Linked DNA regions of Homo sapiens: region 1 is linked to region 2. Evidence: promoter capture Hi-C in 16 types of primary human blood cells and fetal thymus (Javierre and others, 2016). All regions are on one chromosome and are shown on one strand. Each heading gives the region's core, a stretch centred on a gene start or on the middle of the fragment in contact. The rest is flanking DNA. Distances are from core to core; before and after follow the strand shown.

The links. The method cuts DNA at HindIII sites, captures the fragments that hold promoters and counts their contacts. A CHiCAGO score of 5 or more calls a contact.
Region 1: a fragment that was not itself captured here is called in contact with the fragment with the promoter of PCDHGA7 in region 2 in 1 of 17 cell types (total CD8 T cells); the score reaches 5.2 in total CD8 T cells.

Annotation. Positions count from the first base shown.
Region 1 is chr5:141,265,298-141,269,724 of GRCh38, forward strand. It overlaps LOC105378199 (a long non-coding RNA gene), which reads right to left and starts at 3,461. Exons shown (of 2, transcript XR_001742473.1): 1 at 3,172-3,461. The HindIII fragment of the contact is 184 bases long and covers 2,440-2,623 here.
Region 2 is chr5:141,380,800-141,385,410 of GRCh38, forward strand. It overlaps PCDHGA7 (protocadherin gamma subfamily A, 7), which reads left to right and starts at 1,943. Exons shown (of 4, transcript NM_018920.4): 1 at 1,943-4,524. The coding sequence starts at 2,101. All of the region lies in intron 1 of PCDHGA1 (protocadherin gamma subfamily A, 1), which reads left to right. The region is part of intron 1 of PCDHGA2 (protocadherin gamma subfamily A, 2); the gene reads left to right. All of the region lies in intron 1 of PCDHGA3 (protocadherin gamma subfamily A, 3), which reads left to right. It also overlaps PCDHGB1, PCDHGA4, PCDHGB2, PCDHGA5, PCDHGB3 and PCDHGA6, and 1 more gene. The HindIII fragment of the contact is 6,225 bases long and covers 386-4,611 here.

The DNA.
Region 1 (4,427 bases), core at 1,282-3,781, 110 kb before region 2:
CATTTGTGTCATGTGCAGAAGCTATTGCATAAGCCAGTAGTTATACCTGTTGCTCATTTCAATCCTCCACAGGTGAGAATCTTAGTAAGTGGGATGCTACAGCATGACAGGGATTATCACAACCCCACTTTCTACCAGAATTGGATTGCTGCCATGTGACCAGCAAGTAATTCAAGTTCAGAATCCCATCCTTAGAATTTGCTTTCTAAGTTGCTATCTTTGTTGAGTTCTCCCAAAAGCAGACCTAGAGACAAGGACTTAGGTGCAATTAATTTATTTAAAAAGTTATCTAGAGAAGCACCAGTGAGGAAGTGTGGAAACTGAGAAAAAGAAGGGAGAAACATCAATAAATTAAAAATTATTATTTTAATAAGCAGATTACCATTGTGAATACATGGGCCTCAATCTTGCTAGGGAACTCTATGAGGAACTGTGTGGAACATACTGTAGAATTGTCCCATCAAAGAACCAGAAAGTTAGTGGTAGACTGATCTCACCTTCCATCTTTCATTGAGTGTTAACCCTAAGGGCATTAAATTTCTGGAAATTCCAGATTGCAATGTGAATGGGCAGAGCAAGCTCCTATGGCATCAGAGAAATCCCTCCCAGGAAGAGAAGTAGAAAGACAAAAGTGCTTGACATGATGTATTAGTCAATTTTCACACTGTTGATAAAGACATACCTGAAACTAGGGAGCAAAAGAGGTTTAATTGGACTTACAGTTCCACATGGCTAGGGAGGCCTCAGAATCATGGCAGTAGGTGAAATGCACTTCCTACATGGCAGCGGCAAGAGAAAATGAGAGAGATGCAAAAGTGGAAATCCCTGATAAAACCATCAGATCTCATGAGACTTATTCACTACGACCAGAACAGTAGGAGGGAAACTGCCCTCATGATTCAATTATCTCCCACCAGGTCCCTCCCACAACACGTGGGAATTATGGGAGTACAATTCAAGATGAGATTTGAGTGGGGACACAGCCAAACCATATCACAAGAGAAGCTGCTGTAAGCTTGCTAAAAAGTTTTCATTGAACTGCAGGTAAACTCTGAGGTGGGCCAAGGGAATATAGGACAGGCATCAATAGCATCTGCTATACTGCTGCATTTGGTTGTACAAGCAAAGGGTTGAGAAGTAGCTGTGGAAGGAAGGTTCAGCATTCCAGTGTCACCAGGAGCAACAGCCAGATTGAGTGTTCCTGTATCTAGGAGCAACTGTGTGGGTATTGAGAGGTGGTAGCAACAGTAGAAGTGGCCTACTAACCCTGGGTCACAGGTGTAGCAAGTTGTTCTTGGAACTCAATAGTTCCTGAGTTCCACTTATCCACACATTCCAATGATGCTATAAAAATCTAATTATCTCTGTTAAATATTTTTCTGCTTAAACTGATTAGAGTTGTTTTTGTTATGTGCCCTGAGCCCCAAAAATATATTTTGTACCAGAATTTGCAGGCAACAAACACCGAAGAATGAAATTTAGGATAGATTATATGACCTAGATAGATCAAAGGCAATGATAGTCCCATATCCTCTAGAAAATAAGATATTGGTAGTCCCTGGTAAGCAACAGCAAAACATTTACTCAGGTTATCACTTGTGTTTGTCTGGAATTAATTGCTTATTGAAGGTAATTCTCTGGTAAGCAAAGTGGCTGGTGTACCAAAGCATTATGGTGGGGAAGAGAAAGGTTCAGGGGATGTGGTGATTACTTTTGACTGCAATCGAGAATTCAATTAAAGAAAATAACGAACTTAGGGTTTTAAAATTCTTGGGTCAGGAAAGATATGAAAATCAAATATTTTAATGATTGCTTTAAAAACATCTCTTTTATCCCACGGCTACAGGACTACATAGATAAAAATCAGACAAAAAGTCTGATTCTTCAGGTTGATAAATAATTACAAAGTTGAATTCACAACCACTGCATGTTTTTTAATGAAATTGCTAGAGCATTGATCCAGAAAGAGTAGTATCCTTAGAATGGGAATGGGGACAGCTAGGTGAATTCAGATGTGATTGTATCTTGAATCCCCAAACCAATTGAGCCCTTTTTTATCCCAGCAGAAGCAAACTCATTTTCCTTTTTAATAAGACTGTCCTCTTTGCATGCATAGTCTGTAATGACCTCAGCTGAGACAGTTACATTGCAAAGGGTTGCTAATTTTCTCCATGCCCTTCATTTGCCAACTCTCATTGCCTCTAGACCTCTAATTAGATTCATATCCTAGCATGTTCAATGGGGACAAGCACAAAGCCAGTCCCAATATTAGAAGGCATATATACTGAAAGAATTGCATAATTTTGCTAACTACATCACAGAAACCTTAGGAATATGTTTGAGAACTGAGTATGCTATAACAGAAAACAAAGAAAAAACCTTTAGATTGAGTTGAATTTAGGTGGGTTCGTTTGCCAGAGATTCTGAATTCAGTGTTCAAGCTTTCACATGATTATCTCTAATAGTTCTTTTGGTCAGCTGACTCAATTCAATGACAGCCACAATTTAACAAAGGAAATTAAGATGCTAATAATGCCTTAGGATAATGTTATCCAGCAAAAGGGACTCACTACCTGATATGCTAGAAGCCAATAATATGACACTGCATTTTTGAGAAAAGAAAAGCTTTATATTGAAAGTCTTTGTTATAGCAACAAACACACAAAGGAAAGAAAATGGATTCCCAAGGAGACAGGAGTAAACGTCAAGTGTCTTCCCATGCTGGCTTTCAGGCAGTAATTTTGTTAGAAATGCTTTACGGGGCTGGGCGTGGTGGCTCACGCCTGTAATCCCAACACTTTGGGAGGCCGAGGCGGGTGGATTACCTAAGGTTAGGAGTTTGAGACCAGCCTGGCCAACATGGTGAAACCCTGCCTCTACTAAAAATACAAAAATTAGCCAGGCGTGGTGGCGTGCGCCTGTAATCCCAGCTACTCAGGAGGCTGAGGCAGGAGAATCACTTGAACCCGGGAGGTGGAGGTTGCAATGGGCGGAGATCACACCACGGCACTCCAGCCTGGGCGATTGAGTAAGACTCCGTCTCAAAAAAAAAAAAAAAAAAAGAAACAAAGGAAGAAAAGAAAAAGAAAAGATTTAGGGGGCAGATTCTGAGAGCGGTGATTAGCGGAAGGAAAGGGGAGGCATGGGAAGTCCTTGGGCATGTGCACTTACCTCTTCATGCCTCCGCAAGGGTCTTTGTGCGAATTCGGGGGAGTTAGTATGAAACCTGTGGTGGAAACTCAGGCTGCGATCTCAGCAAGCTCATTCTGTGCAAACTCCATTTATCTATCTAGGTTACAACCGATTTCAGCCAGTTCATTTCTTTTAAGCAGAGGGAGTCTCAGTGTTTCAGCAAGTTGTTTCTTATCTGCCATTATGAAAACTCAAGAATTTCTGTTAGTTACTGGTTTCTTTAACTCTTTGGGGCACAGTTTCAATAGTGTAGAGGAAAAAAAAACAAAAACAAAAAAAAAAAACAAAGACTCAGGAAAATAAATCTCTATTTTTTTTTCTTTTTTCTTTTTTTTTTTTGAGACGGAGTCTGGCTCTTTCGTTTCGCCCAGGCCGGACTGCAATGGCGCTATCTCGGCTCACTGCAAGCTCCGCCTCCCGGGTTCACGCCATTCTCCTGCCTCAGCCTCCCGAGTAGCTGGGAAAATAAATCTCTATTTTTATTCTTGCCCTAGGTATCACAAATGTTAGGGGTGCTCCTGCTCCTCTGAGAGTCATACAAGGTTCTAATTATCTCACCATCCCATAGGACATCACATTTTTCCAGCACGCTAATGGGATCATGCTGATTGTACCTCTTCAATAGCAAGTAACATGTGCCCTAGATGCCTTCGTAAGACGTATGTATGGCAGAAGAGGAGATAAGTAAGCCCCACAACAATTTAAGGAACTGTCCTCTCTGAAGTTTTGGGGGATTCAGAAATCTAGGGCATGTTAAGATATTTCCAAGAAAGTGAAAAACAAGTTGCTGCTGCCCTTCCTACACTCCCTACCATGAAGAAAAAGGCAAACTTGGTGAGCCTCTTGATTTTGGAGGCAACATGTTATCTTTTGGCATCCTTCTCTGATCTTTTTGCTGAGTCACTGTTAAGGCTGCCAGCTTTAAACTGAACTCCAAATCAAAGAAGGCTCTACAGGTACTCCAGAATGCATTAAGAACAGGAACACCACTTGGGAGTTATGACTCAGCAGATAAAATTATGTTTAACGCTGGGCGCAGTGGCTCATGCCTGTAATCCCAGCACTTTCGGAGGCCGAGGCAGGTGGATCACTTGAGGTCAGGAGTTTGAGAATAGCCTGGCCAACATAGTGAAACCCCATCTCTACTAAAAATAAAAAAAATTAGACAGGTGTGGTGGCACAGGCCTGTAATCCCAGCAACTCGGAAGGCTGAAGCACGAGAATTGCTTGAACCC
Region 2 (4,611 bases), core at 693-3,192:
AATGTGAGATGAAACTATGAATTTTGAGGCATCAGGTAAAAATGGATCAAGACATTGAGAGCTATAACCTCCAAACATGAAAGTTTGTTTGAAAATATCTACAAGTGCTTACATTGTTTAATAATCATACACTTTGCTTGCCTCAACAAGAAGTTCAAAAGTACTATTAAACAAATAGAATTTAACTCCAGTTTACAGAATTCATCTATAATACCTCTATTAGTTCCTTTAAACAAAATTTATCTACTTTGTGAATGCAAAGATAACTATGGATTATTTTGATAGATCAAAACAGAATGTCCTTCAAAGTGTTCCCTGTATTCTGGAGCAATGCCACCAGAAAGCAGAAATAGGTTACTTAGGAGCCTCCCACAAAACGAAGTTAAGCTTTCTTAGTGTTAGTTCTGGATTCTCCTCCTGGTTCCACCAACTACTCTCCAGGACCTAGAAGAATTTACAAACCAAGACTGTTTCTTGCCAGGTCTTTATTCCAGAGCAGGTCATTCTCTTTTATTCTGCAACTATGTGAAAGGAGCTTTCTTTTCTTTCTGCTAGCAGAGGGTAGCCTCGGATCCATCAATAATTTAGTTTTACTCTATCAACATCAGTGGAGAGACGAGTACCTCTAAGGATCCTGTCAGGACAGTCCTGCATTTTGCTCAAATGCTGTCTAGAGATCCCTGTTTTCTCAATTACACTAGAATAGAGTAGGATGAAGATTTGAATTGCATACTAGGATGAAGACTTGAATTGAATTGCATAATGAAAAGAATCAGCCAATCCATTATCCAGTTTCTTATGAATTCACAGCCCAGTAGGATCTCTGCAGATTTCTGCCTTCTGTAGAAAATGGGTTGCTTCTATAGCTGATTGCTGCAGCCAAGACAAACAACGATTTCTTTCTTTTTTTCTCACAAGACTGGGAGTGAGAATATTTGGATTCCGACATTGTTCTACTACTATATAATCAATAATCAGGAACAAGGCAAGGCAATTCCCTCTTTCTTTCTTTCTTTCTTTCTTCTTCTTTTTTTTTTTTTTTTTTTTTTGGCAGAGTTTTGCTCTTGTTGTCCAGGCTGGAGTGCAATGGTGTGATCTCGGCTCACCACAACCTCCACCTCCCGGGTTCAAGCGATTTTCCTGCCTCAGCCTCCTGAGTAGCTGGGATTACAGGCGCGCGCCACCACGCCCGGATAATTTTGTATTTTTAGTAGAGACGGGGTTTCTCCATGTTGGTCAGGCTGGTCTCAAGCTCCCGACCTCAGGTGATCCGCCCGCCTCGGCCTCACAAAGTGTGGGATTACAGGCGTGAGCAACAGCACCTGGCCCCCCCTCTCATTTTTTAAACGGTTAAAATGAAGGTGTTAGACCGTCTCTAAGGTTCTATACAATCAAAAATTTATTAAAATAGGTCTATATATTTTACAACAATTTTGACTTTCTGAATCTTGCATCATGGTGTCTAGAACATATGTGTTCAATTAATACTGAATTAATTAAAATTTATATACACTGATGTAAATATTTTCTAAGTAAAATCTTTCATATGTATTTAAATAAAATTTACCTTTTTGCCTTCAATAACTGATTTTCCCATGTGCAATAACGTGTGAGTCAGTGCCCAAAAGAGTCACTTGAAAGTTGCAAGGCAAAGCAGTTTTTTAAAAATTATCTAAGATTATCAAACACCGGTCCATGAACACTGTTGCATTAATTCAGTGTCTTAAAATGGATTTTTAATTATCAGGGATATCTAGAGCAAAGAAATCTAACAGGGAAATTTTGAAAGATGAAACAATTTTCTATGAAATCAGTGTATTGTGTGCATCAATGTGGTGCAGTAACTTAGTAAGGACTCACAGCGCCGCTGTTCACCAACCAGGGAAAAATGGTGCGAGAGATCCCACAGAAACCACCGAGTTTTACAGCACAGAGAAACGACAGATTGCGATAAGCCCTCTTCCAGGCTGCACTAAACTCAAGCCTCTATCCTGCTGGATTCTGAGCTCCCCTTCCTAAGACAGAGGGGTCCACCCGGATACACCCGCATTCTGAAGCACTTCCCGAGATCGGCGCCTAAGCAAGAGAAGCAGGACGACTATGGCGGCTCAGCCGAGGGGCGGGGACTACAGAGGATTCTTCCTGCTCTCCATCCTCCTGGGGACCCCCTGGGAAGCCTGGGCAGGACGTATTCTCTACTCCGTGTCGGAGGAGACGGACAAAGGGTCCTTTGTGGGAGACATCGCCAAGGACCTGGGGCTGGAGCCCCGGGAGCTGGCGGAGCGCGGAGTCCGCATCATCTCCAGAGGTAGGACGCAGCTTTTCGCCCTGAACCAGCGCAGCGGCAGCTTGGTCACTGCGGGCAGGATAGACCGGGAAGAGATCTGCGCTCAGAGTGCGCGGTGTCTGGTAAACTTTAACATCCTGATGGAAGATAAAATGAATCTTTACCCTATAGACGTGGAAATAATAGATATTAATGACAACGTTCCAAGATTCTTGACGGAAGAAATAAATGTAAAAATAATGGAGAATACAGCTCCTGGGGTTCGGTTTCCGTTAAGCGAGGCTGGGGATCCAGATGTGGGCACGAACTCCCTCCAGAGTTACCAGCTCAGCCCCAATCGCCACTTCTCCCTGGCTGTGCAAAGTGGAGACGATGAAACTAAGTACCCGGAACTGGTGCTGGAGCGGGTGCTGGACCGGGAGGAAGAGCGGGTTCACCACCTGGTCCTCACAGCCTCTGATGGCGGCGACCCGCCCCGATCCAGCACCGCCCACATCCAGGTGACAGTGGTGGATGTGAATGACCACACGCCTGTCTTCTCTCTGCCTCAGTACCAAGTAACTGTCCCCGAGAATGTGCCAGTGGGTACAAGACTGCTCACGGTACATGCTATCGACCTGGACGAGGGAGTCAATGGGGAAGTGACATATTCTTTTCGGAAAATAACTCCTAAACTTCCAAAGATGTTTCATCTGAACTCGCTTACAGGAGAAATATCAACTTTAGAAGGATTAGATTATGAAGAAACTGCCTTCTATGAAATGGAGGTTCAGGCTCAAGATGGTCCTGGTAGTCTGACAAAGGCAAAAGTACTGATCACAGTTTTAGATGTAAATGATAATGCTCCAGAAGTGACTATGACGTCTTTAAGTAGCTCAATCCCTGAAGACACACCTCTTGGGACAGTCATTGCTCTTTTCTACCTACAAGACAGAGATTCTGGAAAGAATGGTGAGGTGACCTGCACCATTCCAGAAAACCTACCTTTTAAATTAGAAAAATCAATAGATAATTATTATAGATTGGTCACAACCAAAAACTTGGACCGGGAAACACTCTCTTTGTATAACATCACACTGAAAGCCACAGATGGTGGAACTCCTCCCTTGTCCAGGGAAACTCACATATTCATGCAGGTGGCAGACACCAACGATAACCCACCCACCTTCCCCCACTCATCCTACTCAGTCTACATCGCTGAGAACAACCCCAGAGGGGCCTCCATTTTCTTAGTGACTGCACAGGACCACGACAGTGAGGATAATGCCCAGATCACTTATTCCTTGGCCGAAGACACCATCCAGGGGGCTCCAGTGTCCTCCTATGTCTCCATAAACTCTGACACTGGAGTCCTGTACGCGCTGCAATCCTTTGATTATGAGCAGTTGAGAGAACTACAACTAAGAGTGACTGCACATGACAGCGGGGACCCGCCTCTCAGCAGCAACATGTCACTGAGCCTGTTCGTGCTGGACCAGAATGACAACCCGCCCGAGATCCTGTACCCGGCCCTCCCCACAGATGGTTCTACTGGCATGGAGCTGGCACCCCGCTCCGCAGAGCCCGGCTACCTGGTGACCAAGGTGGTGGCGGTGGACAAAGATTCAGGCCAGAACGCCTGGCTGTCATACCTCCTGCTTAAGGCCAGCGAGCCAGGACTCTTTGCGGTTGGGCTGTACACGGGCGAGGTGCGCACGGCTCGGGCCCTGCTGGACAGAGATGCCCTCAAGCAGAGCCTCGTGGTGGCCGTCCAGGACCACGGTCAGCCTCCTCTGTCAGCCACCGTCACACTCACCGTGGCTGTGGCTGACAGCATCCCCGAAGTCTTGGCCGACCTGGGCAGCCTTGAGCCCTCCGACGGTCCTTACAACTATGACCTCACGTTGTACCTGGTGGTGGCGGTGGCCACAGTCTCCTGCGTCTTCCTAGCCTTCGTCCTCGTACTGCTGGCGCTCAGGCTGCGGCGCTGGCACAAGTCACGCCTGCTGCAGGCTTCAGAAGGTGGCTTGGCGAACGTGCCCACCTCGCACTTTGTGGGCATGGACGGGGTGCAGGCTTTCCTGCAGACCTATTCCCATGAGGTCTCCCTCACCGCGGACTCTCGGAAGAGTCACCTGATCTTCCCCCAGCCCAACTATGTAGACATGCTCATCAGCCAGGAGAGCTGTGAGAAAAATGATTCTTTGCTAACATCCGTAGATTTTCAGGAATGTAAAGAAAACCTGCCAAGTATTCAGGTGAGCCCAGCCCTTCCTTTATTTCCATGAGGAATTTATTTGCATGATATTTCTCTATTATTTTGCAAAACAAATGTTTTGAAAATA